7 separate regions of the Homo sapiens genome follow, and regions 1, 2, 3, 5, 6 and 7 are each linked to region 4. The links are contacts of gene promoters, found by promoter capture Hi-C in blood cells and fetal thymus (Javierre and others, 2016). All regions are on one chromosome and are shown on one strand. Each heading gives the region's core, a stretch centred on a gene start or on the middle of the fragment in contact. The rest is flanking DNA. Distances are from core to core; before and after follow the strand shown. Region 1 overlaps SNX16 (sorting nexin 16). Region 2 holds the start of PKIA (cAMP-dependent protein kinase inhibitor alpha). Region 3 holds the start of FABP5 (fatty acid binding protein 5). Region 4 holds the start of MRPS28 (mitochondrial ribosomal protein S28). Region 5 holds the start of ZC2HC1A (zinc finger C2HC-type containing 1A). Region 6 has its middle 4.1 kb from the start of SLC10A5. Region 7 overlaps ZC2HC1A (zinc finger C2HC-type containing 1A).

What was found. The method cuts DNA at HindIII sites, captures the fragments that hold promoters and counts their contacts. A CHiCAGO score of 5 or more calls a contact.
Region 1: a contact is called between a fragment that was not itself captured here and the fragment with the promoter of MRPS28 in region 4, in 1 of 17 cell types (neutrophils). The highest score is 6.7, in neutrophils.
Region 2: a contact is called between the fragment with the promoter of PKIA here and the fragment with the promoter of MRPS28 in region 4, in 5 of 17 cell types (fetal thymus, total CD4 T cells, total B cells and 2 more). The highest score is 8.8, in fetal thymus.
Region 3: a contact is called between the fragment with the promoter of FABP5 here and the fragment with the promoter of MRPS28 in region 4, in 2 of 17 cell types (activated CD4 T cells and naive CD8 T cells). The highest score is 7.5, in activated CD4 T cells.
Region 5: the fragment with the promoter of ZC2HC1A here is called in contact with the fragment with the promoter of MRPS28 in region 4 in 2 of 17 cell types (monocytes and non-activated CD4 T cells); the score reaches 6.9 in monocytes.
Region 6: a contact is called between a fragment that was not itself captured here and the fragment with the promoter of MRPS28 in region 4, in 2 of 17 cell types (naive CD8 T cells and erythroblasts). The highest score is 5.7, in naive CD8 T cells.
Region 7: a fragment that was not itself captured here is called in contact with the fragment with the promoter of MRPS28 in region 4 in 1 of 17 cell types (monocytes); the score reaches 5.4 in monocytes.

Annotation. Positions count from the first base shown.
Region 1 is chr8:81,833,860-81,837,967 of GRCh38, reverse strand. The region is part of intron 2 of SNX16 (sorting nexin 16); the gene reads left to right. Among named protein-coding and RNA genes, the nearest start is that of SNX16, 6.3 kb to the left of the region's middle. RefSeq lists a silencer at 3,908-4,108. The HindIII fragment of the contact is 7,425 bases long and covers 1-4,108 here.
Region 2 is chr8:78,513,802-78,517,668 of GRCh38, reverse strand. It overlaps PKIA (cAMP-dependent protein kinase inhibitor alpha), which reads right to left and starts at 1,329. Exons shown (of 4, transcript NM_006823.4): 1 at 1,201-1,329. All of the region lies in intron 2 of LOC105375911 (a long non-coding RNA gene), which reads left to right. RefSeq lists an enhancer at 655-764 and a silencer at 1,085-1,384. The HindIII fragment of the contact is 11,771 bases long and covers 1-1,752 here.
Region 3 is chr8:81,278,865-81,282,708 of GRCh38, reverse strand. It overlaps FABP5 (fatty acid binding protein 5), which reads right to left and starts at 2,173. Exons shown (of 4, transcript NM_001444.3): 1 at 2,035-2,173. The coding sequence starts at 2,113. LNMICC (lncRNA associated with lymph node metastasis in cervical cancer) reads left to right here and starts at 1,285. Exons shown (of 2, transcript NR_186603.1): 1 at 1,285-1,376; 2 at 2,333-3,844. RefSeq lists enhancers at 861-1,695, 1,696-2,530 and silencers at 2,125-2,414, 2,425-2,504. The HindIII fragment of the contact is 5,532 bases long and covers 1-3,844 here.
Region 4 is chr8:80,028,013-80,032,062 of GRCh38, reverse strand. It overlaps MRPS28 (mitochondrial ribosomal protein S28), which reads left to right and starts at 1,804. Exons shown (of 3, transcript NM_014018.3): 1 at 1,804-2,027. The coding sequence starts at 1,815. The region is part of intron 5 of TPD52-MRPS28 (TPD52-MRPS28 readthrough); the gene reads left to right. It also overlaps a transcript of TPD52 not described here. RefSeq lists an enhancer at 1,652-2,081. The HindIII fragment of the contact is 3,845 bases long and covers 801-4,050 here.
Region 5 is chr8:78,664,613-78,668,868 of GRCh38, reverse strand. It overlaps ZC2HC1A (zinc finger C2HC-type containing 1A), which reads right to left and starts at 2,780. Exons shown (of 9, transcript NM_016010.3): 1 at 2,705-2,780. The coding sequence starts at 2,720. It overlaps LOC105375911 (a long non-coding RNA gene), which reads left to right and starts at 2,890. Exons shown (of 4, transcript XR_007060972.1): 1 at 2,890-3,864. RefSeq lists enhancers at 2,627-2,676, 2,641-3,148, 3,149-3,657 and a silencer at 2,747-2,966. The HindIII fragment of the contact is 1,596 bases long and covers 1,770-3,365 here.
Region 6 is chr8:81,688,810-81,693,185 of GRCh38, reverse strand. No RefSeq gene overlaps it. Among named protein-coding and RNA genes, the nearest start is that of SLC10A5, 4.1 kb to the left of the region's middle. The HindIII fragment of the contact is 3,888 bases long and covers 29-3,916 here.
Region 7 is chr8:78,714,655-78,718,566 of GRCh38, reverse strand. ZC2HC1A (zinc finger C2HC-type containing 1A) reads right to left here. Exons shown (of 9, transcript NM_016010.3): 8 at 3,239-3,346; 9 at 1-1,239. The coding sequence ends at 1,074. It also overlaps a transcript of IL7 not described here. Among named protein-coding and RNA genes, the nearest start is that of ZC2HC1A, 51 kb to the right of the region's middle. The HindIII fragment of the contact is 1,858 bases long and covers 1,586-3,443 here.

The DNA.
Region 1 (4,108 bases), core at 424-2,923, 1.8 Mb before region 4:
ATGCTGTAAATTTATGACAGGATGGGAGGACCTCCAAGGAAAAATTGTTGAGATAATTTATGAAGAGGCAGTCTTTAAAATTATCATAAGACTGTGATATAGGAAATCTTCAGGGAACTCTGTCTCTCTCTCTCTTTTTAGAAAATTTTTAGAAAATATAAACTGATGGCCAATTTCCTGAATTAAGAAATAGGCATTTATTGAGTTGATACTATGGTCTGAATGTGCGTTCCTTCAAAATTCATATGTTGAAACCTAACCTTCAAGGTGATGGTATTAAGAGATGGAGCTTTTGGAAGCCAGTAGGTCATGGGAGCAGAGCCCCCATAAATAGGATTAGGACCCTTAAAAAGAGGCCCCAGAGAGCTTTTTGTCCTTTACACATCTGAGGACATAGCTATAAGGCACCATCTATAAACCAGAAAGTAGGCCCTCTCCAGATACCAAATCTGTTACTGTCTTGATCTTGGACTTCTCAGACTTTAGAACTTTGAGAAATAAATTTCTTTGTTTACAAGCTACCAAATTTATGGTATTTTGTTATAACAGACCTAACAGACTAAGACAGATGATATGTGTGAAGATGCAAGTATTTGGCCAAATACAAGGTGGTGTTATGTAAAGCATTTCAAGAGACTGGAGAGGAGGAAGTAAATGACAGATATGAAATTAGTCATATTCATTTATTTATTAACTCAACATTTTTTTAATTACCTATTATGCCTCAGGCACTGTTCTGGGTAATAGTGGTACAGCAATTTGAATGAAAGCATGATAAGTAAGTAAATAATAAGACGCCTGATATGTCACATGGTGATAAGCACTATAGAGAGAAATAAAACAGAGAAGGAAGACAGGGAGTTTCCCCAAATCTGGGGTTGGGATTTAAATAGCACTATCAGTCATGGCCTCACAAAAAGATGTTAGTGCTAACAGGGAATGAGCCATGAGAATGTGTTTTCAACACAGATGGGACAACTACAAAGATCCTTGTGGCTGACAGCAGAGTAAGCTGTGGGAGGTGTAGGGAATGAGATGACAGGCAGGGAAGTGTGGCACACAGATCACATAGGGAAGGAGGCACTGTGAAGACTTTGGATTTTACTCTGCATGAGATGAGAATCTTTTAAAAGGTTTTTAAAAGAAGAGTCATGTGATCTGACAATGTTTTAAAAAGTTCATTCTGGCTACTGAATTGAGACTGGTTTGGTCGAGATGGGGGACAGTCAAAGCAGGAAGCAGTTAGTAGGTTCTTTTAGTAATCCAAGGGAAACATGATGGTAGTGTGGACTGGGGTGGTGGAGGAAGTCCTGAGAAGTGATCAGGTTCTGGATTTGTTTTAAAAGTAGAACCGGCAATATTTCCTAATGATTTGGAAGTGGAGTGTGGGAGAAAGAGAGGTCAAAGGTGACTTCAAAAGTTTTGGCCTAAACAATGGGAAGATATGGCTGCCATTTAATTAAATGACAGGTTTTGAGGGATGATCAAAATTTGTTTTTAGACATGCTAGATTTGATATGTCTGTTCAACATTGAAATGGAGATGTTACATGTGTTAATGTGTACACATACATATGTAATGTGTGTGTATACATATAAGCTGAGTTTAAGGGAGAGGTATAAGCTGGAGATACAAACTTGAGAATCTTAGGTTTGTAAAATAATTTTTTCTAGATATATTCTTTTGAATTGCTCTCATAACTGAAAAAAGTATTAGGACTCACTCTTGATCTGATAATATATAAGGTGTCTAGTCTTTAAAAAGGTTGTTTAAAGACAAAAATTGACTAGGATGTGTAGTGAGTAGAATTGGGAAGGAAGCATGCTATGGACCTCTTTGATTGGTAATGTTTCATTTCTTGCTCACTGATATGGTTTGGCTGTGTCCCCACCTAAATCTCATTTAATTCCCATGTGTTGTGGGAGAGACCTGGTGGGAGGTAATTAGGAAGTATAGCTAACTTGCTTTTGATTTTACAAGCTGATAGGCAAAAGGGACTTGCCTTGTCTCAGATGAGGGACAAGGGGCAATCATTGGGGCAGGTCTTTCCCATACTGTTCTTGTGATAGTGAATAAGTCTCACAAGATCTGATGGTTTTAAAAGCGGGAGTCTCCCTGCACAAGCTGTCCTCTCTTGTCTGCCAGCATGTGAGACTTGCCTTTCACCTTCCATCATGATTGTGAGGCCTCCCAGCCATGTGGAACTGTAAGTCAAATAAACCTCTTTCTACAGTCCAGGCTGAGGTAGTCTTAGTTGGAGATGAGGAACTTGTTGGGAAATGGAGAAAAGGTAATTCTTGTTAGGTTTAGCAAAGAGATTGGCGGCATTTTGCCCCTGCCCTAGAGATTTCTGGAACTTTGAACTTGAGAGGGATGATTTAGGGTATCTGGCGGAAGAAATTTCTAAGCAGCAAAGCATTCAAGAGGTGACTTGGGTGCTACTAAAGGCATTCAGTTTTATAACGGAAGCACAGCATAAAAGTTTGGAAAATTTGCAGCCTGACAGTGCAATAGAAAGTAAAATCCCATTTTCTGAGGAGAAATTCAAGCTGGCTGTAGAAATTTGCATAAGTAATAAGGAACCCAATGTTAATCCCCAAGACAATGGGGAAGATGTCTCCAGGGCATATGAGAGGTCTTCATGGCAGCCCCTCCCATCACAAGCCCAAAGGCGTAGGAGGAAAACGTGGTTTTGTGGACTGGGCCCAGGGTCCCTGTGCTATGTGCAGCCTAGAGGCTTGGTGCCCTGCGTCCCAGCCGCTCCAGCCATGGCTGACAGGGGCCAACATAGAGCTCAGGCCGTGACTTCAGAGGGTGTAATCCCCAAGCCTTGGCAGCTGCCACATAGTGTTGAGCCTGTGAGTGCACAGAAGTCAAGAATTGAGGTTTGGGAACCTCTGCCTAGATTTCAGATGATGTATGGAAATGCCTGGATGCCCAGGCAGAAGTTTGCTGTAGGGGCAGGGCCCTCATGGAAAACTGCTGCTAGGGCTGTGTGGAAGGGAAATGTGGGGTCAGAGCCCCATACAGAGTCCCTACTGGGGCACTGTCTAGTGGAGCTGTGAGAGGAGGGCCATCATCCTCCAGGTCCTAGAAAGGTAGATCCACCAACAGCTTGCACCATGCACCTGGAAAAGCCACGGCTCATAAAAGCAGCCAGGAAGGAGGAGGGCTATATCCTGCAAAGCCCCAGGGGTGGAGCTGCCCAAGGCCATGGGAGCCCACCTCTTGCATGAGCAGGACCCAGACATGAACTAGACATGGAGTCAAAGGAAAGTATTTTGGAGCTTTAAGATTTGACTACCCTGCTGGATTTCAGACTTGCATTGGGCCTGTAGCCCCTTTGTTTTAGCCAATTTCTCCCATTTGGGATGCTTGTATTTACCCAATGCCTGTACCCTCATTGTATCTAGTAAGTAACTAGCTTGCTTTTGATTTTATAGGCTCATAGACGGAAGGGACTTCTTGTCTCGTATAAGAATTTGGACTGTGGACTTTTGAGTTAATGCTGAAATGAGTTAAGTCTTTGGGGGACTGTCTGGAAGGCACTATTAGTTTTGAAATGTGAGGACATGAGATTTGGGAGGGGCCAGGGGTGGAATGATATGGTTTGAATGTGTCCCCACCCAAATCTCATCTTGAATTCCCACATGTTGTGGGAGGGACCCAGTGGGAGGTAATTGAACAATGGGGGCAGGTCTTTCCCATGCTGTTCTTGTGATAGTGGGTAAGTCTCATGATATCTGATGGTTTTAAAAATGGGAATGTCCTTGCACAAGCTCTCTTCTTTTGTCTGCTGCCATGTGAGATGTGCCTTCACTTTCCACCATGATTATAAGGCCTCCCTAGCCACATGGAACTGTAAGTCCAGTAAACCTCTTTCTTTTGTAAATTGCCCAGTCTCAGGTATGTCTCTCAGCAGCATGAAATGGACTAATACACTCATAGTACTTTAGGTGTGTTCATTTTGTGAAATTTGTCAAGTTGTACGCTTATGAATTGCACACTTTTTGTATATATTTTATAATTCAAAAACAACTACATTAAAATAAAAACAGTACAAGGAAATACATATGAAACTTCAAATAAAGAGTAGAAACAACAACAG
Region 2 (3,867 bases), core at 80-2,579, 1.5 Mb after region 4:
GGAACCTGCAAATGGCAAGACAAACTAGAGGATACTCAACCAGAGGCTTAGATTGGGCAGCTCCATTGGCTTTCTGACTGCCTACGAGGAAAACCTCACTGGAAACTCTTTTGAGGTTCTTGAGGAATCCTAGAGGCAAACGGACTCCTCTGCCTTTTGGAAAGGATTTGTCCCAAATCTTAACAGCTAGCTGTCTCAAAATCCAACTGGACTAAAATTGCTTCAAGAAAAACTGGATGGACTGGCATTCACATTTTTACTTCTACCTATGCCTATGCATAGGGAACATCCCTCACACTCCAGTAGATTCTATCTGTCCTCTCTAGCTTTCAAGTAGCCACAGTGACTACAGCGAAGGGAGTTAATGGGATAACATGTTGGTACAGGGCCACAAGCAGGATATTTCATTCCATGCATTTGGGGGAAGGACACAGGTAACAGTATACAGGGAGAATACCGAATAAGAAATCTGTGTGAGGCAATGCCCTTTTTGGGACCTTGACAAAATCAGTCATGGAACCCAGGTGGTGGATAAGAGCTGACGAGAGTTGGTCTGTGAATGGGCACAGCATCTCCGAAAAAGATCAATGAAATGATTGACAGAGAAAATGGCAATTGAAGGAAGAAGCGATGTCAAGTGCTGCTCAACCCAAGCTGAACTCCAGGAGATAAGAGAAGTTTCCCCTCCAGATAGAGGCTCTTTCTAAAGGTTCAGTCTTGAAGCAGGTGTTTTGCCATTGAGAGGGGCACAGACCCATTCTGATAACTGGAAAGGGAGAGGACCAAGGACTACAGGAAGAGGGACGATTTCTGATTACCTCAGGCTGCTGCCAGGGACCTACTGCTCCAAATCCTCAAAATACTCAAGCGAAGGTAAAAGGCACAGAAAGCAAAAGAGTAACTCAAATTATTTTAAATTTTGAGTCCTCTTCACTGTCTACGCGAATCTGGCACTGAAATGGTAGATCACGTTCAAAAGAGTATAGAGGCAAGAACGCCTTCTTTGTTTGCCCAGTAACACTGCTCCTCCAACCTCTGCACTTGGCCGCCCAACATTTCCATCCTAGTTGTTGCTCCTTTTCTCATTGCAGAATGCAGCGGGGTTCTCCCCTTCTTCCCTCCGTGCTGCAAACCCCATTATTAACCAAGCGGAAAGCTCCACGCAGTGCGGCCAGGGCGCACCGGTGCCGGGCTGCTTACCTTCCCCGGACCTAGTCAGCGCAGGTCCCCGCGCACGCCGCCACGGGCCGCAGTCCCGCCGCGCCCGCCGAGTGCTCGGTCAGCTCGCGCCGGCCCGCGCCCCACCTGCCAGCAGCAGCCTCCGCTCCCGCCGCGGAGCTCCGGCTGCATGAAGTCATCCCCGCCCCGGGACGGATCACCACATTCCGCGCCAGCCACGGGGGGAGCGGGGCCGCTCCCGACCCCAGGGAAGGCAGCCTGGAAACGGCGCTCGACGATCGCTGCCCCGCGAGGTTGTGGATTGATTTTCTATTAATGCTTTTACAGCTGCAGCATCGCTGGATTATGGATTGAGAGAGAAGAGCCAGGGGGGCTTTCTCTGCATAGCGTCCTTCCTCCGAGCGCTCCCCCGTCACCCCGGCTGCATGGACTGTTCCATTTGCCCCTGTGGGTTTCCCACCCTCTTCATCTTCCTTATCAGCATTGTTCATTTGGCTGAATTTGAGAGCAGGAATTGTCTTTTAAGATAAACATTCAAGCACTACAAAAACATTTTAAATTGGTAATGAAGCTTTCTAAGCCCTTCATAGCTCTCTCCATCACCCCCGCCCCCGCCAACAGACACACACGCAAACACACACACACACGCACACACGCGCGCACACACACGTATGCACACAGCCAAACCACTCACAATTTTGAAAGCTAGAACCTTTCGCCCTCTCACCTACGTAATAGAACGGGAATCTCCTAAAAGACTGGAGAAGTGGGGCCAACCAGAGAAAGCGCTCAAAGAAACAGTGGGGTGGCCCCATGATTTTGTTGTGTTTATGGTGCACTTGTGCACAGATGTTCCCTCTAACATCTCTTCCTCCTACTTCCTTTGCTCTGGACCCCCTCCCCTCCCTGCCACATAATTGGGCAAACTGTTGTGGTGACAGCTGTAACATTTGGGAATCAAAAAGCAGAGTCTACATTAGCAAATGACTATCTCTCTTTCCCTAAGGATTTATGAAAATTTGCTTTGGGAATGAAATAAGCATGTATTCATATAAGCCCTTTCCTTCTCTTTTTAAATTAACACTAGCTGTTAACAAGACTGTTCTCTCTCCCCCACCCTCCCGTTTTGCTTCTTTCCCAAATCTCTTCAGGTTTGAGGGTTGAATGTTTAAGGAAAAATGGGACTAAATTTGCTCTCTTTGTAGCTGAGCCAGGGTTTCCGCCTAGCTGTTGAGTCATTTTCCAGTCGGGAGGTTCCTTGACACTAGGGTTCTGTGGAATGGAGTTCCCTCTTTTAACTTGCCTTGCTGTTTGAATTGACCGTCACTTGATACAGGCCAGCTTTACACTATGGATTTGTCCAGCAACCTAAACAGTGCAATTGCACAAGGCCAGGGAAGCACCTTTGCTAAATGAGATGTTTCCATCCATCTATCAGTCCCAAAGTTAGGTGATAATGTAGCCAACAGCTTTCCAACAAAACTTAGTTAGAATTCTTGGTCATAGAATATATGCTCTTTGAAAGCTAGAACAGCTTAATTCATCGCTCTGAGACTCACTTTCATAACATTAGCCCGTTAATATTACCATAGAGCAGGAGATTCTTAATCTGTATAAATGGAATTCTATTCATATACTCCTTTTATACAGATTAAGTATAATGGGAAAAATCTCATTTTTAGTTTCACTAACTTCTAACTGAAATTTAGCATTTAGCATGTCCTTTAAACATAATGTAGGCAACAAACCACAAGAATGTTAGGAGTACCTGGGACTTTGTTTCCAATAGAAACAACAGCTAATTCCTTATTGCTGTTTTTATAGATATCTCTATCACTACACTGATGTTATAATCAAATCATCACTACTTTTTTTATTTAATAGACTATATTTTTCAGCTTTGGTGTCCAGAAAAATTGAAGAAATAATACAGGGTGTTCCCATATATCCCATTCCCAGTGTCTCCTATTGACATCATACAATAGTAAGGTACCTTGGTGTAATTCTGGCATTGCTATAAAGAACTACCTGAGATTGGGTAATTTATAAAGAAGGGCTGGTGGTTCTGTAGGCTGTACAGGAAGCATGATTGGGGAGGTCTCAGGAAACCTATAATCATGGTGGAAGGCAAAGGGGAAGCAGGCAGGGCCTACATGGCTGGAGCAGGAGAAAGAGAAGGGGGAGGTGCTACACACTTTTAAACAACCAGATGTCATGAGAACTCACTACCACCAGAAAGCCAAGGGGGAAGTCCTCCCCCATGATCAAGTCACCTCCCACTAGGCCCCTCCTCCAAAATTGGGGATTACAATTTGACATGAGATTTGGGTAGGGACACAAATCTGAACCATATCATTGGGTTACAATCAATGAATGTATACTGATACATTATTACTAACTATAAATAAAGTCTAACTACATTTAAGTTTCCCTGGTTTTTACCTAATATCCTTAAATCTGTTCCAGGCATCCATCCAGGATACCACACTAAATTTAGTTGTCATGTCCCCTTAAGCTCCTCTTAGCTGTGATAGTTTTTCTTGTTTTTGATGACCTTGACAGTTTTGAGGAGTAGTGGTCAAGTATTTGCTGGAAGGCCTCACTGTTGCAATTTGTCTGATGCTTTTCTTATGATAAGACTGGAGTTGCGAACTATTGGCAGGAGAAAGAAAGAGGTAAAGTCCCTTT
Region 3 (3,844 bases), core at 924-3,423, 1.3 Mb before region 4:
AATCCTACCTTTCAATATAAAAACTATTTCATAGGTATATAAATCAATAGAAATATATAACATATTAAATTATATTTTAATTTATGATCTATCAATTTCCCCTCAACGTTAACATGTAATTTATGATCTATCTCTTTCCCCTTAGAGTTAGTTAACATGTATAAGGAATCTTAGATCCAGGCCAAATCACTGTTTCATAAATGAGGAGACTACAACCTACGCAGCATGATTGTCTTGATGAAGAACACCCAGCCAGGCTTTAAAGTTCCCCTTGGAGCCTTCTCTTTTGCCAGCTCAGGGCTGGTGCCTTATGCTGTTAATTGAGTCATTATGTACTCTCACTTTGGACAAATAAATGGGCTCTGCTCTTTTCACATTGTGACTGCTCCCTAATGAACTGAGTCTTGACAACCTTCAAGACTCCAGAATCCTGGAAACAAGCCCTCCAAACCTACACACAATTTGCTTTCTACAGGCAGAGAAAAGTGTTCTTTGGGCCTTAAACTTGTACACACACACACACACACACACACACACACACTGTTATTTATTGGACAGGTGCAGTAAATCGCTTTTTCCAGAGTCATCTTGATGTAGGTTTACAAGGAAAAAGAAAAATACTGCCTTCTTTACTGATAGTATCAAAAATACACTCATGATTCACCATAAACCAGCCTTAACACCACATGGTCTTGGATAAAGGGTACTGAAGGAGTGATTCCGAAGTGCCACGGCGACCAGGTATCAATAGAGGGTCACGGTAGTTATTTCACCAGCGAGCAACCGGGTTAACATTTGTGGATACCGGCTTCTGAAGCACCCTCATAAATCCCAGCCATCCCTTAGGGCTGGAAGCTCCCTTCCAGAGAGGATCCATGCTATGCTAACTCCATCTCACTTCCTAGTGGCCTGTGACAAAGGTCCATTTTTGTTTGCAATTTATCCAGTGTCTCAATCAGCATGCAATCTGTCACTGGCATAGAAAAGGACAGTAATTTATAATGAAGCACTGTTTTGAGTGAGAAATGAATCTTACTACTGAGATTCATTCTCCCTCGGAACGCTTCAAGAAGTCATCTGCCTTCTGCAGGGCCACACCCATCTTGCATGCAGTTAGCCGCAGGAGGGCCAGGCAGTTTCTGTTACGGTTTTCCAGCAAAGCCCACTGCCTCCTTCCTCCTCACCCTCAAGTGGCAGAGGCCAGGATGGCAACACACGGCCACCCCCAGGCCTCATTGCGCTCCTCCCACAGGCCACCCGCCCACTGCGGCGCCCCGGCCCGGCAGTGCCAGCAGCAGGTCGGCACCGCCAGCGCCACGCTTCTCGGGGGCCCTGGTGTTCCATGGGGTACCAATCCAAAGGGTTCGGCTCAACTGGTAAGGGCGAGCAGAGGACCTGGGGGAGACGGGGCTGACAGAGGAATGCAAGCTGAAGCTGTAGCGCCACTCAGACCCCTCCACAGGATTTCTGCGGGAAACTGCGCGCCAGCACCGCGTCCCCATGAAGAAAACGGAGGGTGACCTGCGCGCCACAGGGAACAAAAGATGCGACAGGGAGGGAAAGGGGAGTGGGTGCTGCCACGATGGGGTAAATGGGAGAGACAGAATGGTGGCAGGAAGGGGAAGGATGAGTAAAGGGGGAAAAAAGGGAAATACAGGGTCGCCTGGAGGGGGTCGAAAGAAGTGCAGCGTGAGGTGACGGGTGCGCGCGCTAAAGGACAGGAAGCAATGCGGAAGGGCTGCCGTTTGGGCGAAGGGAAAGAAGCAGAGGTAGGTGGACCACGGGGTGGACCACCTCCGGAATCTTGCGGCCCGCGGGCGGGCAAGAGGCGCGCACGCTCCCTGCTCCTCGCCGCCTGCCCGCGTGGTGCTGCGCGCGCTGCACCCAACGGCCGCGTGGTGGGGAAGATGGGAGGGGATGGGGGTAGGCCGCCGAGCATCTCCTGCCCCAGAATCTGGCACGCTGACGGGGACCTAGGGACAGACGACCGCACAACACGCCACGTTGCAGGCGCTGCCAGGCCGGGTGCCTCACCTAGCTCCTTCATGTATTCATCAAAGCCTTTGCTGTCCACCAGGCGCCATCTTCCTTCCAGCTGCTGAACTGTGGCCATGGTGGGTGCGGGCGGGCTGGCGTGCAGAGAGGGGTCTGCGTCGGCGTGGCAGCGTGCTGTGAGGCACCCGGCGCCGGCGGCTGCTTTATAACGGCGGCCCGCGCTGGGCGGCGCTATGCGGCCAATGGGAGGCGGGCCTCGCCCGGTCCCCGCCCCGCCCGCCGGGCGCCCCCTGGGCCTTCTCGGGGTCGGGAGGTGCTAACCAGCTCCTCTTGCCAGGGTACGCGACGGCCTCTCGGGCGCCTCCTGCAAGCAGGGACTCGCCCGGCGCGCCCCACGCCTCATGGACGCCGGCGCCTGCACGTTTCGGCGCCTCTGCAGGCCCAGGAAGCCAGAGGGGTCACCTGGAGGCCTGGCCCCGCCTCTCCTGCACCCCTCCGTTTGACAACATATCCACCGCCGTTTTTCCTTTCAAAATACCCGGACCAATCGATTAGCCCTCGCCGGACTCGGACTGCAGGAAGTGATTGATCGGCTGTTTGGTTTATTGATTCATTAACTACGGTGCCTCCCTGACCTTCTGCTCCTCGCCAGCGCACAAGCTCACAATCCACACCCTCCTAAGAGAACCTGCTCTCGCCATCCGCAGGTCTCCCTGGCCCAATAGTGGGGATATACCTGAGTTGAGCTAGAGGATTTTATCCCTGTTGGGATGGGGGACGTCTCGGGAAGTGTGGTTTCTAAACTAAAAGACTGCAGGAAGTGTCAACTTTAGTGACTGTCATTGCCATTCAAGAATGTTTGATTAGTTTATATTCCCTTCGTAGTGCACCCTTCACCGTTTCTTCTCAGACACCAGCGGGTTTCTTCTCAGACACCAGCGGGTTCCCTCTTTCTCTTGAACTATAATAATACCCTACACATGTGCGTAGAACATGATACGTTTCAAAGTGTACTCTTCACAATTTATTACTTGGTGCTCCCGGGTGCCTGTTGGAAGTCAGATGGACTGAGGTGAGGAAGTTGCCACACAGGCTGGCCGTTTCGATAGCGGTAATGTGCATTTATTGAGTAGCTACTAAGTGCTAGATGTGCTTCCTGGGCACTTTATAGACATTGGTCTCCACTATATTTTTGCTAGGGGTGTTATCCCAATTTTTCAAAAGAGAAAATAGGGCAAAGATAGTTCTCACAGTGGTAGAACCAGAATCCCCATCCAGGTCCGTCTCACTGAAGACCTTATGAAATCAGACCACACCTGACTGCCTTGGGCTCAGGGTAGCTGTGATGGAGCTCTGAGTAGACCACAGTCACCGAGACACTACTAGTTCTTGTATCATCCTTGACAAAATTGAAATCTGAGGTTGGTTTGCTATCTCCCAACATGCTGCAGGACATGTACTCCCCTGAACTGCATCCCTTTCATTTCAAGTCCCTGCCCTCAGTTTAGGGTCACACCAGTCTTCCTTGTGGTACCATTTAACACTCAATTGTTTTCCCAATAAGGGTCTGCATGTCCCACACCCGAGGCCCTACTGCTCAGAAAATATTCGTGTTCTGAGGGAAGCTGAGTGCATCATTTACTCAGTGATGAGAAGCCCTGGCTACCAGGCACTTCAGGCAGCTCCTTAGGGCTGCCTGTGTGTTTGAACTTGAGCTCTTCATGTGCTATTTCAACATGTCTTATCCATTTCTGTATAGACTATATGTAGTAATAATAGGACGCAGCACTCTGATACTAATTTTTAAATGATCATAATCTAACATGTTACAGAAATATCAAAAAGATAA
Region 4 (4,050 bases), core at 555-3,054:
TCCTGCCTCAGCCTCCTGAGTGGATGGGATTACAGCCATGTGTCATCACGCCCAGCTAATTTTTGTATTTTTAGTAGAGACAGGGTTTCACCATGTTGGCCAGGCTGATCTCGAACTCCTGACTTCAGGTGATCTGCCCTCCTTGGCCTCCCAAAGTGCTGGGATTACAGGTGTGAGCCACCACGCCAGGGGTGTGTTTTTACGGATACTTGAGTTTTGCACTTTTCACCCATGCTGGAGTGAAGTGGCAGGAACATAGCTCACTGCAGCCTCAAACTCCTGGGCTCAAGTGATCCTCCTCCATCAGCCTCCCAAGTAGCCGGGACTACAGGCATGCACCACTGCCCCAGGCTGATTTTTCTATTTTTTGGTAGAGACTGGTTCTTGCTATGGCCCAAGCTGGTCTCGGACTCCTCATCTCAAGCAATCCTCCCTCCTCAACCTCACAAAGTGCTGGGATTACAAGTGTAAGCCACCCTGCCCAGTCAGACTGAGGGTTCTTGAAGACCACTGGCCATGCTCTTTACAATTTACCACACTTTCTCCTGAAAAAAAGTGGAAGTAGCACTATCCGTAGAAAATAATGTTCTAGGCAAGAGTCCATTAATAGTCTCGGGAGATAAACAGTTTTAACTGCCAAGAGGGAGAACTCACCTGGAGAATTTAATGAATTTGTAAGGACTACCATACAGTTAGCTAGTAATAATTTTATGTGATTCATACAATTGTGCACCATTCTGAGATCAGTGTACTTCGTGTTCTTAACACTATCTGTACCATTAGAGAGCATCAGAAAAGCTTAAAACCCATAGTCAAGGCATTCTTAAAATAGGGTCTGTGATCATAAAAATTCTTTCTCTCGAAGTACTTGCAAATGAACTGGAAAGGTGTGTGCCCCCAAAATAAAACTAACTGTGGATTAATATTAAACTGCTGGGTCAAAGATAGACGGACAACTAATTAATAAACACTTAAGAATGATGTTAGGCTGTTTTGAACAGGGTGGGTAAATTTTGGGAATTAACACTGCAGGAGAAAAGGGAAAGAAAATCCAGAGTGAGGGTGGGGGCCTACGGCGGTGCAATACTTAGGGACATTCCAAAACTTCTGAACTCCTAAGTTAGATAATAGGTATCTAGAGGTGTCAAAACATTTCAGAAAAACTATTTTTGTGGCGTGAGTGGACTGGCTGCAGAAGTGGCAAAGGACAAACTTGGATGCAGGGTTTGGCAAATGTTGGGTGAGCCCTAATCTGTGCCTGGTGCTAGGGACCCTACAGCAAAGTTCCTCTTTTCAAAGTTTAAAAAGTTGGGAGTAGACACTAAATATTATTAAATATTTAATATTAATATGTGGCATATTAGAAAGTGCTACATGGTACTAAGAAAAACAGGTGCCAGAGAGTCTGCATTTGGGCTTCCACTTCTAAATAGGGTAATCAAGGAGACCCTCATATTTGAGTGAAGACCCCAAACTCGAGTGCTGGCGGCCATGTAGGGGGGACGGCAGGGCGGGAGAACGAGCGTCGCGTTAGCAGAATTTACAGTACAATGGGGTCCAACGGATGCCCAGGAAGGCGAAATTCCTGCAAGTTAAACGCACTTCTAACGCAAAACTTAACCAGGCCCCTTTCCAACTATTTAGCCCACCAATTTTAGCTTAAGTCTCTTCTTCCCCACGCCACTCCCAGATGAAAGGAAGACACGCCTCGTTGGCCTCCAGAGCTCTGCGTCCGGGGGGCGGACCTCTCATAGCTCCGCCCCGTGACCCGCGCGCTTGCGGAGGGGAGGTCAAAGGTCAGAGGTAAAGAAGTCATGGCGGCGCTGTGTCGGACCCGTGCTGTGGCTGCCGAGAGCCATTTTCTGCGAGTGTTTCTCTTCTTCAGGCCCTTTCGGGGTGTAGGCACTGAGAGTGGATCCGAAAGTGGTAGTTCCAATGCCAAGGAGCCTAAGACGCGCGCAGGCGGTTTCGCGAGCGCGTTGGAGCGGCACTCGGAGCTTCTACAGAAGGTGGAGCCCCTACAGAAGGTGGAGCCCGGGCGGGTGAGAGGGAGTCGCGGGAATTACGCCAACGACGCGGTGGGCGGGGTCGGGAATAGGGGCGGAGCCTGGCTTAGGAAGGGGAGCTGAGGTCCGGGGCCCAGTTTTCCGGAGTTGCGGTGCGTTGTGGCTCAGCCCTCGGCCCCTAGAATCTGTGCTTGGTGTTTTTCTTCCTTTCGTTGTCCTTTTGTGTGGCATTTGCGTACTGGGCCGGGTCTGTCCACACTGCGCTTGTTTTCCTGGGATTGAATGCTGGTGGGAAGGTAACCAGCGGGGAGCGCTGCTGGGGAGGCGATCTAGGGCGATTCCTGGGACGCTAAGGAGAATGGGACTCACACGGAGAGGCAGGGCTCTGCTGGGTCTTGTTCTGAACAGTAGCTCTAGCATGGAGCTTGCTGTCTGGAGTAGAAGGCCCTTCATAAACATTTGTTAATTTAATGACTGGGTGATGAATCACTTTCTGAACTTGGGCAAGTGATTTAACTTGTCAGCGCTTCACCTCTCTTTTGTAAATGTCTTCTTTTTTTAAAAAGTAAAGTAAAATCTCCGTTTGTCTCAGCCAGTACTTTTGTAAAATACCATAAATTTATAGATAAATGAAATGGAAGAAATAAAATTACAAGCCTAAGTTTTTAATAATTAAACTCAGCAGACATGAAATTGAATTATATACAAATAAACTCTCAATTTCTGTATTTTTCTTCCTAGGGAGTAGTACCAAACAGTTCACAAGACTGGCAGTGTCCTGGGTTATAGGGTCATTTTAGTAGCAATTACTGATGTCAAAATTTTTCTGAAATCCAAGGACTAGAAGAAGCCTGGTATATTAGTTTATTATTTTCTGTTGTAACAAATTACTACAAATTTAGTGGCGTAAAACACAGGAAATGTGTTGTTGTTAGGGTTGTGAGAAGTCAGACGGGATCTCACTGGTCTAAAATCAAGGTGTTGGTGAAGTTGTGTTCTTTTCCGTAGCTTCTAGGAGAATCTCTTCCTGGCCTGTCTTTTCTGCCTCTGTTTTCTACTTTTTTGTTTTTTGGATTTTTTTGTTTGTTTTGTTGTTTTTTGAGACAGGGTCTCGCTCTGTCACCCACGCTGGAGTGTGGTGGCATGATCTCAGTTCACTGCTAAACCCCCTGGGCTCAAGTGATCCTCCTGCTTCATAGCTGGGACCGCAGGTGTGCACCACCACTCTGGGCTAATTGTTTTTTCTGTTTTTTTTTGTAGAGATGGGGTTTTGCCATGTTGCCCAGGCTGGTCTTGAACTCCTGGGTTCAAGTGATCCTCCTGCGTTGGCCTCCCAAAGTGCTGGGATTACAGATGACAGATGTGAGCCACCTGGCCTGGCTGACCCCGCCCGGCCCCGCCCCCCCCGCCCGTCTTCTGCTTTTGAGATCCCTGTGATTACATTGGCCTCCCTAGATAATCTATTTTAAGATCAGCTGATTAGCAATCTTAATTCCACCTGCAAAGTTAATTCTCCTTTGCCACGGAAGGTAACATATTCACAAATTCTAGAGATTAGGATGTGGATGTCTTTGTAGGGGGAGGGGGCATTATTCTTTCTACCATATATGGAGAAGTCATAAAATACTAGCAGAATAGCGATGATTGACCTGAAGCCACCTAAGGGATGGATTTTAGATCCATCCTTAAGGTAAGGCCATAAGAGTTAAGTGCAGTAAGGTTGGAAACATAGAGTTCAGTGCTCCCTTCCAAATATATGTATAGGAAAGGAGTTTTTCTATTTCTTACCTAATATTTCTCACTCACGCTTCGCTCCCATTCATACCACATTCTAAGCCCCTTCGGAAACCCCCCAAAATAATTCTCAATTGCTGAGTTAACTGTGGTAAGAGTGAAAATTGTAGCATCACATGTATAGTAAGTTAAGTGTTTGAAACTAAAAATGTACTGTTTATTTAATGAAGGAAACAACCAAGGTGTTTTAGAGTCCCCAGAATTCCCTTTCCTTTCCTTTTCTCTTTCCTTTCCTTTCCAAGGCAGTTCT
Region 5 (4,256 bases), core at 1,531-4,030, 1.4 Mb after region 4:
TAGATTTTACCATCTCTCCATTTTACAAATAAAAAAAGCTTATAAGAGATTGGAACTCTCTCAAGTCTAGAACTACTTCTATTATCCTTAGATAGATTTTGTGGGGCACAAATTTTATTAGATGAAAAGGAATTAAAAGGTTTTGCTATAACTATCTACAGAATGTAGAAGTGCTCAGATATTGATTCTACAAAAACAGATAACTTATATTTCATTTCAAAGTATAGTGTTTGAGCCTAATACCTCATCTATTGACTATTCAAGAAGCATAAAGACCCTGAAGACCAAAAGTAAAACAAATGGTATATGATTACATGCAAATAACGTAAGTTATAAGAAAGAGTAAGATTATCTTTAATAGAAATTTTCAAGAGTCCATATATTTTCTTGTTTTATAGCCAAGATTAATGTCTGGTAACTGGTTTCAACTAGAAACATATGTCTAATGCCAGAGTACAATATTTACGCAATTACTCTGACACATTAAGCAAACTTTTGAATATTTCTTACTGGATACTGCAATATAATATTTATTAAACACCTTCAAAGTACTAGACTTTAACTTCCAATAGAGGTAAGAAACTACCTAATCTATCACTGTATCAATGTTTCTAGAATGAAAGAATGGATGAATTAATGAACGGTAACCTTAAGACTCAGAGTTTGATATTTGCAAGGTGTGATCTCTTAGGGGAGGGAGAGGGGAGAAGGAGGAAGGAGAGAAAGGCACCATCCTAACTTCAACAGAAAATTCTCAAGAGCTTTTATTAGATTGAACTGCTTGAAATTACCAGAATTCAACTGTTTTGCCCTACATAATTTAGGGCAACTTCACATATTTCAACTCAGTTTATCACAATTAAACACATTATAGTTAATGATAGCATCTTATTTTGTAAAAAAAAAAAATCTAAAAGTAAAGGGCAAGCACTATTAACATCATAAGCTGGGCCCTATAACATCATAAGCTGGACCCATAAAATATGCCTATAAATACAGAATCCTACCTTTGTCCACCTATGCAACTGAGTGTCATAATAGGTTTCCATTATATTTTAAAAACATTCGTAGTAAGGTTTCAATAGTAATATCTTAGCACTGTTAAAATGTAAGGTCCACTAAAATGTAGGTTCGATGAGAGTAAAGCTTTATCATTTTTATTCTTTGCTGCAACCTAGAACCTAAAAAGATGCCCATAATAGACATTTATTTAACAACAAATATTTATTGAGTACCTACTTTGTGTCAGACATTGTTTTAGGTGCCTAGGATACATAAGTGAAAAATCAGATGATGATCTTTGTCTTAATAACAAATGTTGAATAAAATAATAAAAATCTGCAAACTGTTCAAAACACTTTATAGATAATATGTAATAAAACCTTATCATATTATATATGATAATCTCATGAGAATTCCATAACCCATGCTTTAATCCCACCAAGATACAAAAGTATCTTGAAAGTAAAATATACTGTACTATCATTACAATTCCTTATTTCATGGAAACTTGAATTATCTTCCAAAAACACATAAGCAAAAAACAAGACCTTCATTAGGCCATAGCATACTGCAGCTGTCCACAAACGGAAAATTATCAGAATCATTTATCAGAGCAAAAGCACGAAATAAACTTCTACTCATGTTATTACATCTGCTTTTTGGTGAATAGGTGACTGAAAAAGTTACCGGCTACCACTTTGCACTTCATCACACAATGTAGAATATTTTACTCCCTGGCATGCAACAATACACAAGACTCAAAAGCTTCTGCTCATTCTTAATTCCAACTGAATCCGTGTAAACTAGGAGACGGGGGAAAGGAGCTAAATCAAGACAATAGGATCTTTCAATTCTGAAGGTTTGTTCTTCATCATAACAAATTAAAAAATCTTGAAACTGTTGTTGCCAATGCTAGTTATTGTGGTTTTTGTCCTTCCTTTGTTTTTAGGTGAATGCTTTCATTACACAGGATAAAATGGGTAAACAGAATAGAGAAAAAGTGAAAGAACTGGGAACAAAGCAAAATCTGGAGTCATGGTTACAGTACAAAGATAAACCCAAAGATAAGGAACCAATACAGGCTCTTCCTCACACAGCGGCCGTGAATAAGTCATCAAATCCTCCGGGTAATCTATTGTACCGGCTCTAAAGCTGGCCAGTGACACTTCCTTAGGAGATGCTCTGACATCCCTCCGACAGAAGATGCTGTCGAAATGTAAAAAGCCGGTTACCTAGGGAAATCGGCCAAGGAATGTCAGGAGCTCGAGGCTGGAGACACACCCCGGGGCTGCAGCACAAAGTGGCCTGTTGGTGTTAAGGCCGTGGACAATAATGGAGAGAGTCCAGTACAAGGAAAACAAAATCTGGCCAGAGACTGGGATCACTAAAAGGGCACTCAGGAGTCAAGCAAGATCAGAAAATGGTAGGAAGAGACGTGCAGGCGTCTTGCCAGGGGCAGGATCTGGCTCCGGGCGGGAAAGCCCAGTTGAAGACCGTCTGAGGCGGGGCAGCCTGGTAGCGTTAGCTCCACCGCATCGGGGACTGTCCGGTTCCCTTCGGCCCCAGCCTCCGGAGGCGCGGCGGGACGCGGCGAGGTCCGCCGCACCGAACCAGCCCTCGCCTTCCTGCTACTGGTGTCCAGGGTCCCCAGCTGTTTCGGGCCCGCTCTAGCCGTCCTGCCCTCATCCCTTCATCGCCTCACCTTCCAGTCCCTCCATCGCGCCACCTCCTCGAGCTCAGCGAGACTCCTTCAGCAGCGCCCGCCACCGCCCAGCTCTGGCTGTAGCAACCCAGCCGCACCTCCCACCCGCTAACATTCCGAGCTCCCATTGGTTCCGCAACTGCGGGGGCGGGGATCCGTGGGGGCGGGGCCGCGGCGGAGGCGAGGTTCCTGCGGTCTCCTCCTGGCTGCCACCCCTGTCCGTCTCTCCGGGTTACTCTCCAGGGAGCCGGGAGCCGCTTCAGGTTGCAATCTGCGATGCAACGGCGCCTTTGTTTGACTCCAGCCTTGTTTTGCCTCATACCTTATCCTCCTATTTAGAGTACCTCAGCACCTCATGGGCTCCGCTTCACCAGTTCCTCAATCAGTCAATGCCTCTGACTTCTAGCCGCCATCCCTCCCAGTGGATACTTTAAGCAGGCAAGCAAACCAAACAAACGCCCAGCACGCTTGCATGCAGCAATCTCCGTTTTCCGGTCTTTGGTCGCATGACTTGACCTCAGCGTATCCCCTACACTTGATCTTCACACACAGCTTCATAGGTTAAGACACTTTTTTTCCAGAGAAATCATACTTTCTATCTGCGATTGTGGAACTGCGATTGCTCTAAGCCCTTGAAAACAGTTTCCTCACCATGAAAGCTTGGGCCAAAAATTAGAAGTGAAACCCAGCCCTCCCTCTGTCTTCTACTCTTGGCCTACCTTGGCCCTATACTTTATCATCCATAAACCAAAACAGTCGCCTGGCCTGACAATGTTTGATCGGGGAAGTTTGAGTTGGGGAATTAACCTACAACCTGACAGAATGAGGCCCGCCCGTCTCTAACAGAGTTCAAAACCTCCTGAAGATGAAAGTAACTTCAAAACTAACTCAGACCATTTTAACGGTTTTGCTTACAATTACCAGAACTACATTTCTTTGAAAATTTGATTTAGCAATCGTAAACAAGCTGTACTGTTTGCTGACTATAGCGTATCTACTGGCAAGTTACCAGTATTAATGTGTTGTCCATAACAAACCTCGGATTAATGTTATTGTTAATCTGTTTAATTGAAGAGTTTAACTTCATATCTAACTTCATCTACTATGAAATCAGTTACCTTCAGGAAGCAGGATTCCTCCTACTCTCCACTCACATGAAGGTATGTTTAAACAAGCAAACACTTGAGGGGGCATCATCTCTTACTGAGAAGGTGCTCCAAGTGCATTTGAATGTGGTAGAGTCCATCTGTTGTGTGGAGCCATGTAAAGACCACTTCAACCATGCCTCAATGACTCCCTCCGCCCTTCCCTGGTTCCCCTGGCTCTTCTGCTTCTCTGAGATCCTGGGCCTCCTTGGCCAACCCATAGCCTTGCAGGCAATAAGCTACTCTAGACTGGGTGCTGCGGAAAGGTCCTTTTTCTTCCTTAGTGCTACTAAGGCAAAGGTAGAATTTTTGGTTGGGAGGGAAGGCCTTTTAAAAGAGCATTAAGGAGAAAAAAAAGCACACAGAAGAAAATACAAAAATAAGGAAGCCATTATTTTACAAATTAC
Region 6 (4,376 bases), core at 723-3,222, 1.7 Mb before region 4:
GTGGCATCTCTGCCCTCAGAGCTAAGCTTTCTCCTGTCTTCCATGTTAACCCACCAAAGGCATTACTGTTTACCCCACAACACAGGGTCAGCTCTTCAACCTCATCTCTCTTCTGTCTTCTTTCTTTCTTTCTTTATAGTGAATGTATTTCCTACAGAAACAGCCTGTAATTCAATTGCCAGTGCTCTTCTCAATTCTCAGTGCTATCACTTTTTTCTGCACTATATTGCTTCTTCCCTAAACCTTTCTAAATTGGCTTCTGGCCTGTCTCTCCACCCTCTACTCACTGTCAGATTAATTTTCCTAAAATCTAACATTGACCATATAATTTCCCAGCAATGAAGACTTTTTGCTTTTTAAATGAATTTGTATTTCTTAATGAGGCATTTATTATACTCTACTGTCTGACCTTAACCTAGCTTCCCAGTTTTATTTATTATTATTATTTTTTTTTTTTTTTTGAGAAGGAGTCTCACTTTGTCACACAGTCTGGAGTGCAGTGGTGTGATCTCGGCTCACTGCAACCTCCGCCTCCCAGGTTCAAGTGATTCTCCTGCCTCAGCCTCACCAGTAGCTGGGATTACAGGCGCCTGCCACCACTCCCAGCTAATTTTTGTGTTTTTAGTAGAAACGGGGTTTCACCATCTTGGCCAGGTTGGTCTTGAACTCCTGACCTTGTGATTCATGTGCCTCAGCCTCCCAGAGTGCTAGGATTACAGGCTTGAGCCACCACGCCCAGCCAGTTTCCCAGTTTCATTATATCTCCTCTCTCACCTCGTTACACATAGTCTTTTACCCAAACAGAATGACTTAGTATGTTATGAGTATTGTTCATTCCAGCTAACCTGGCTTGTTTTATGACTATTTGTGTCCTGTTTTAATTTTCCTATTTTGCTCTAAGTCTTTGAGCATAATAACTATGTTTATTCATTTTGATATTCCCTATCACATCTAACACAGTATCTTCTGTGTGCTTATTCAAATAATGTGTTGAAGCACAGACTAGTGTCCAAATAAATAGTGTGCTTTTCAAAAACCTCCTTTTAATCTTCAGTGAAAATTTTTATTATCTAGGGCAAGTCTACGATCTTGTGCAAGAAAGTGTGGGATCGAGAATAGGAAATATCACTCTAAATAATCCTGCTTTCCCTATTTCCTAGCCTTATGGCAAATTCTTTGATCTTCTTATAGTCCAGTTTTCTCATTTAACAAATGAAGCTAATGGTGTCAACTCCATAGATTGTCCTAGGAATTAAGTGAGAGTATACATGTAATGTGCTTGGAAGAGTGCCTGGGACATAGTAAGTGCTATTGTTTTATCAGTTTTAACTTTCAACCCTGGTAGATCTGCTGCTAGTTTGAAATAGCAATCGTATAACTATGTATGGAGCCTAAAACTTTCAACATTTTCTATCAGTACTATTCACCATCTTGATCATAGAATTAGAGAATTTTTGTTTACTTTGCCAGTTGATAAGATAACCAAGGTTCTTTTTTCTTTAAATGCCACCAAATCCAGTATATGACTACCAAAATTTGTATAAAATCTGATATAAACCAAATAGACATGATAGATGTTTATTTGGTTTATAAAGTGATAATTGTGTATGTAGAATATTTTACTCCTTTAAACTGAAATATCCACTATAGGTTTAAAATAGAATTACATTTGTACAAATTTAACTTACATAATGTTTTGGGTTTTTTGTTTGTTTGTTTGTTTTGTTTTGTTTTTCTGAGACAGAGTTTTGCTCTTGTTGCCCAGGCTGGAGTGCAATGGTGCGATCTTGGCTCACCACAACCTCCACCTCCCAGGTTCAAGCGATTCCTGCCTCAGTCTCCTGAGTAGCTGGGACAACAGGCATGCGCCACCATACCCGGCTAATTTTGTATTTTTAGTAGAGATGGGGTTTCTCCATGTTGGTCAGGCTGGTCTCAAACGCCCAACCTCAGGTGATCCGCCCACCTCGGCCTCCCAAAGTGCTGGGATTACAGGCCTGAGCCACCGTGCCTGGCTGACTTGTTTTTTTTTTTTTTCTTTTTTTTTTTTGGGCGGGGGGACGGAGGCTCACTCTGTTACCCAGGCTGGAGTACAGTGGCATGATCTCCACTCACTGCAACTTCTGCCTTCCAGGTTCAAGCAATTCTCCTGCCTCAGCCTCCTGAGTAGCTGGGATTACAGGTGACTGCCACAATGCCCAGCTAATTTTTGTATTTTGGGTAGAGATTTTTGTATTTTTGTATCTGGTTTCGCCATGTTGGCCAGGCTGGTCTTGAACTCCTGACCTCTTGGGCTGCACTTCTAGCTCCATCATCTTACCAGCTGGGGAACATTTTGGTCAAGTTACTTGATTTCTCTATGCCCAAATTCATGCTGAAAATGGCGATAATGGTAGTACCTACCTCGTGGTATTATTGTGAGGATTAAGTGAATTAATATGAGCAAGGTCCTCATAAGAATGCCTGACACATGGTAAGCCCTATTATTATTTTTGTTACATTATGCATATTTAAATGATCTTATAAAGCAGTTGCAAGGGCATGGATGGAATTTGGAGTATATTTTATTTCTTTAATAGATGTATCAAGGAGGACAGATTTTACATAGTAAAACTTGTCCAAAAATATGGATAGGGATGGGGTGACCCAAGTTATTCCTTTTTAAAAAAATAAGAATGAGAGGCATAAAGCAGACTGACTAATCAGTTGAGTTCATACCAACTATTTTCCACAGCCACGATTCTATAAGATAGAATAACGATCCAGAGATAGAATGGTTATGCCAATTTTTAAAAAAGTTTCTTTCCAGCTCTTAAGAGATGATTCTATGATACACTCTTCCAAGAATAACAATTTTATGATATATATTTTTATATCTTGGAAAGCTGTTGGCCTTATAAGGGTATGTCAAAGTCTTAACCAATATATGCAACTCCAATCTGTTATATCAAACATGAGATCTTATTAGATATCCTTGGACACTCCACCCCTGAACAGCTGCCATGGTGTATTTATATTTGATCATTTAAATCAAAGTCCACTTAAATAATTATTATAACCAAGAACGTCTTCGCATGTGGAACCTGAATTATTTTTTAGTGAAGAGAGTGGTTATTTAAAAAGAAGTCATCTCCAAAGACTAAGTGTAGTTGGCAAGATGCCCACAATTTCTGGGGAAGGAATTCCTATGGCCCCTCTTTATTGTACAAATACAGAACAAGGAAGCACCTATTGCCCACTGGGAAGGATGACCAGACCACTTTGTGGCTTCACAGGGCCACCCTTCCCTAGAACTCTCTTGTGTACACTCAGCTGTCTGGGGAGGTGTCAGGGGCATTGGATCTCACCTCTCTTTCATTCTGAGGTTCAGCGTAATTACAACCTCTCTCATAGATGGGAGTCAGCTGACAGGAAAGGATACCAAAGGCCTCCAAGAGGGAACTCCCCTTAGGGAAGGTTGGAAGAGTGAGGAGCTGGACATCATGCCAGGAAGCAGAGTTTGTGCTGCTGTCCCCTGCCCCCGACAACCACCTGGGCACAGCAGATATTCTTAGGTTTGGGAACAATGGCTGCAGATGGGACTGTAGTTTTAAAAAATGCCCCTTTGGGAACTCAAGGGCCATGCATCCTGTACTGAGGTCTCTGCAGCCATGTGAACTACCTTCACAGCATCAGAGAAAAGATCCTTTGGATTTGTGAGACCAGTTTCCAGCCCCACTATAATCGAGCCTGAACACTAAGACTTCCCTGTGCACCGGCAGATTTTCACTTCACTTTCGGTAAGGCATTTGGAAGCAGAACGGCCTCTTTGGACTGAAAAATACTGAGTGAGTTACCTGAGAACCAATGTGAAGTAGCTGTTGAGGTGAGGCCTCTTGGAAAAACTGGACTTCCTGCTCACCTGACATAGGAAGCTTGTAAGGTTTTCATTTGAAGGGATATTTGATATTTAGTTTATTTTACTTCAAATTGTTTATGCTGATTTTAGCAGTTTTTTCAAGTCACTGAAACCACATTCATTTACATAAACTTAGATGACCGATGACTTTTCTGTTAAAACTTTGGAAATATTAGTTGGTTACGAATGAGCACTTGTCAGCATGCGGTTGGCAATATTTTTATTTTAAGAAGATTGGCAATGAAGAACCGAAAAACTAGCCTCAGAAGCCTTTTTTTTTTTTCTAAGAAAATAAAGTATCATTTGATAGACATCCAAACCGGATACCTAAGGCATCACTCTTTTTGGATTAAAGATGTTTATTGGTCCTTGTGAGGTGTGAGAATTGAGTCCAGTCCAAATTACTCATCTCTAAGACATTTCATTTGAAATATATTGGTGACATTTTGTCTTTTGATTAAACAAACAGAAACAGTAA
Region 7 (3,912 bases), core at 1,265-3,764, 1.3 Mb after region 4:
AAGAGTAGGAAAATTAGATATTCTCTTAACCTACTCATAACTACATGTACTTCCAAGAAAAAAAAATTCAAATATTTTTTATCTGCATGCTCTGCACTAATGATTAGTTACCACAACTATTATGATTAGGTGACGTGATTTAAGATGCATTAAAATGATTTATTCTAAATTCAGATACAAAAAATTATATGTTTTTAAACATGTAAGATTTTGCAGGGAATTCTGTGCCTTCTATATTAAATAATTACATTTTCAAATACAGCAAAAAATGAACTAGCAAATTAAAACTATCTTCACGGGTTATGGAAAAAGAGGAAAAGTGAAATCTGGAAAAACAATTGGAAGTAAAAAAATATGTTCAACGAATACATACAGAACTAAAAAAAATCAGTTATAAATAGAACAAGATAGATTTGTATTTTTAGTCTTGTGTATTTGAAAAGGAAATTGCATAATTACACTTTTACAAAACAAGTAAGATGTTTAAATTACGTAACTAATAGAGGGGTTTTTTTTTCTCTTAGTTTTTCGGATTTATGAAATAATTTGTTGACATGCTCTACAGGAGTGACCTTAACATACCTAATGGTAACTAAAACTGTTCTCTTTAATTACAAAATTCCCAGCATCTATCCTACTATGATACTATCTGAAGATAGGCACCAATAATACAAATGTTTATCCAAATTTTTTGCTCAAAGTTATACTTATCCTAAAGCTTGAAGGGCTAAGCACTAGAGTATGAGAGTTTGTGGAAATGTACTTAACGTGCTTTAACAACAACAGAAAAGTAACACCTAAATTAATTGTTCCATTTGAAATTATTTTCTGACAGATAAGTGAATATTTCCTTGAATGACACAGTCTGGGGTATCAGATATTTATTATATACAGTATATGTACACATATAAACATACACACATTATATAGCCAAAAGATTACACTTCAAAATTAACTGGAAATGGTATTTCGAGTATTTTTAGCACAAACTAACTAGAGGATGTGCTCTAGCTGTCCAAGCAGCAATAATCATAAACTCTGAACTTGGCTTTTTTTTTTTTTTGAGATTCTATTCATAGAATCATTCTTCGAATGCCACATTCACAGCAAAATTTGGCCCATTCTACAGGGTATTTAGTCCCACACTCATGGCAGAATTTTGGTAAGTTTCCAGGTGAATGTCCTTCAATGCCTTTAATATTTCCACCATTAAGGGAAGATGCACAGTCCCCATCTGGCCTAAAAAAGTAAAGAAACAATGAAAAGATAAAGTTTGTATCAGTAGTTTTCAACCCATAACCCTGGAGAAACAGGACATAAATATAACAATTAGCCTGCTTAATCTCGTTTTTAATATTCCTCTAGTTCAAATTTTAAAAAATCCTTGTTAGTAAATACTAAAATTCTAACATTTTTTTTTAACATTATATTTATCTGTGTTACGAGAATTTACCATGACCAAATGCAGCCATGCTTTCTGTGTTAGTCTGTTCTCACATTGCTATAAAGAACTACCTGAGACTGGGTAATTTATAAAGAAAAGAGGTTTAACTGACTCACAGTTCTGCAGGCTGTACAGAAAGCTTGGTTGGGGAGGCCTCAGGAAACTTATTCATAGCAGAAGGCAAAGGGGAAGCAAGCATGTCTTACATGGTGGGAGCAGGAGGAAAAAAGAGAAGGGGCAGGTACTATACAGTTTTAAACAATCAGATACATTGAGAACTCACTATCACAAGAACAGCAATGGGGAAGTCCACCCCCATGATCCAATCGCCTATCACCAGGCCCCTCCTCTAACGTTGAGGGTTACAATTTGACATGAGATTTGGGCAGGACACAAATCCAAACCACATCGCTTTCCATCTGTTCTTTGTGCTAGGAATTTACTACACTGGGAGCAGAATGAACATTTATGATGTCCTTTCTGCAAACCCATCTCTAAAGAGAACCCAACCATGAGGAAAGATAGAGATCCTTAGGTTTCAAGTCTCTCTCCTTGGTCACAAGGATTGTGAGGTGATGCTTCTAGTATTTATTTTAGTTTTATTATTTAATGATATTAAATTATTGTGATGCAATAAATAACAAACTCTTATGCATGCACTCACAGGGAGGTCTCTATTATCTATTAACAAAACATACTAGGCCGGGTGCGGTGGCTCACACCTGTAATCCCAGCACTTTGGGAGGCCAAGGTGGGTGGATCATGAGGTCAGGAGATCAAGACCATCGTGGCTAACATGGTGAAACCCCGTCTCTAATAAAAATACAAAAAAATTAGCCAGGCGTGGTGGCGGGCGCCTGTAGTCCCAGCTACTCGGGAGGCTGAGGCAGGAGAATGGCGTGAACCTGGGAGGCACAGCTTGCAGTGAGCCGAGATTGCGCCACTGCACTCCAGCCTGAGCGACAGAGCGAGACTCCGTCTTAAAAAACAAACCAAAAAAACAAAAACAAAAAAAAACAGTAATAAAGGTAAAATAGATGCTAGATGAACTATACACTATAACAGCCTTTTTTTTTTTTTTTTGAGATGGAGTCTCGCTCTGTCACTGAGGCTGGAGTGCAGTGGCCCCATCTCAGCTCACTCCAACCTCTGCCTCCCAGGTTCAAGCAATTCTCCTGCCTCGGCCTCCTGAGTAGCTGGGATTACAGGTGTGCAACACCACAACCGGCTAATTTTTCTACTTTTAGTAGAGACAGGGTTTCACCATGTTGGCCAGGCTAGTCTCAAACTCCTGACCTCAGGTGATCCACCTGCCTCAGCCTCTCAAAGTGCTGGGATTACAGGCGTGAGCCACCACAACTCCTCATCCATTCCAGTTTTATCGTGAGACTGCAGCAGTTCAATGACATCTGCAGGCTTCCCTTCTGATTCTAGTTCTTTTGCTATTTTGCTAGTACATCTGCAGTTACCTCCTCCACTGAAGTCTTAAGTCCCTCAAAGTCATCCATGAAGTTTGGAACAACTTCTTCCAAACTCTTATTAATGTGGATATTTTGACCTCCTCCCATAAATCACATACGTTCTTAGTGGCATGTAGAAGGGTTAATCCTTTACAGAAGGTTTTCAGTTTACTTTGCCCAAATCCATTAGAGGTGTACAACTTAAAAGCCAGATTAAAAGAAAAAAATCAGGTTTTCTATAAATAGCTTGTTACTTACTTTTGTGTATGGTCCTTGGAAAACTATCATATACTCAATTTTATTTTAGTTATTGGGAGAGCAGAGCTAAACATACCTGGCTATGTAGCTCTCAGTATATGTTTTTCTTTTGTTTGTAAGCACACCTGGGGCAGGATTTCTTGCCAAACTAGGTGGTGTGGAATTTCGGGGTTTGACATTAGCTCTATAAAAAAGAGGAAAAATAATGGAAAAGTATTGAACAGTGAGCATGTATTTCTCAAATTACCTATTCACATGACTAGAAAGAATACTTAGAAGCTTCAGAGAAGTTCAAAAGATTAAAGTCCCAATAATTATTTTAAATCTGAAAGCAAATAGTAGTTAATATTAAAGATAAACCAAATAATTTTGCATTTACTAATACTATTCTGATAGTAAATAAAATCAACTAAAATATGTATATATGCTTTACATGAAATTTATAAGGTAATCATTCTGAAAGATACATTTTTAAAAACAGTTTAAATTTATATTTCCCTCAAAACATATATTCTGATAAATGCTTACGGATAATGGTTAAATAAACAAACAAGTTTCATTATTCTAGGCATATACGATGTAGTTAAAAAAAGAATTTTTTTGCTAGTCACATTAAAGAATAATATTCAACTTATGAAAGTTCTAAAAAGCAGCAACTAAAATAAATGAGTTAATATAATATTCCCTTTAAAGATTTAATTTTACCAACTGCACAGCCTGGGCTATCCGAAATCAGAGGGACTTCTGGTT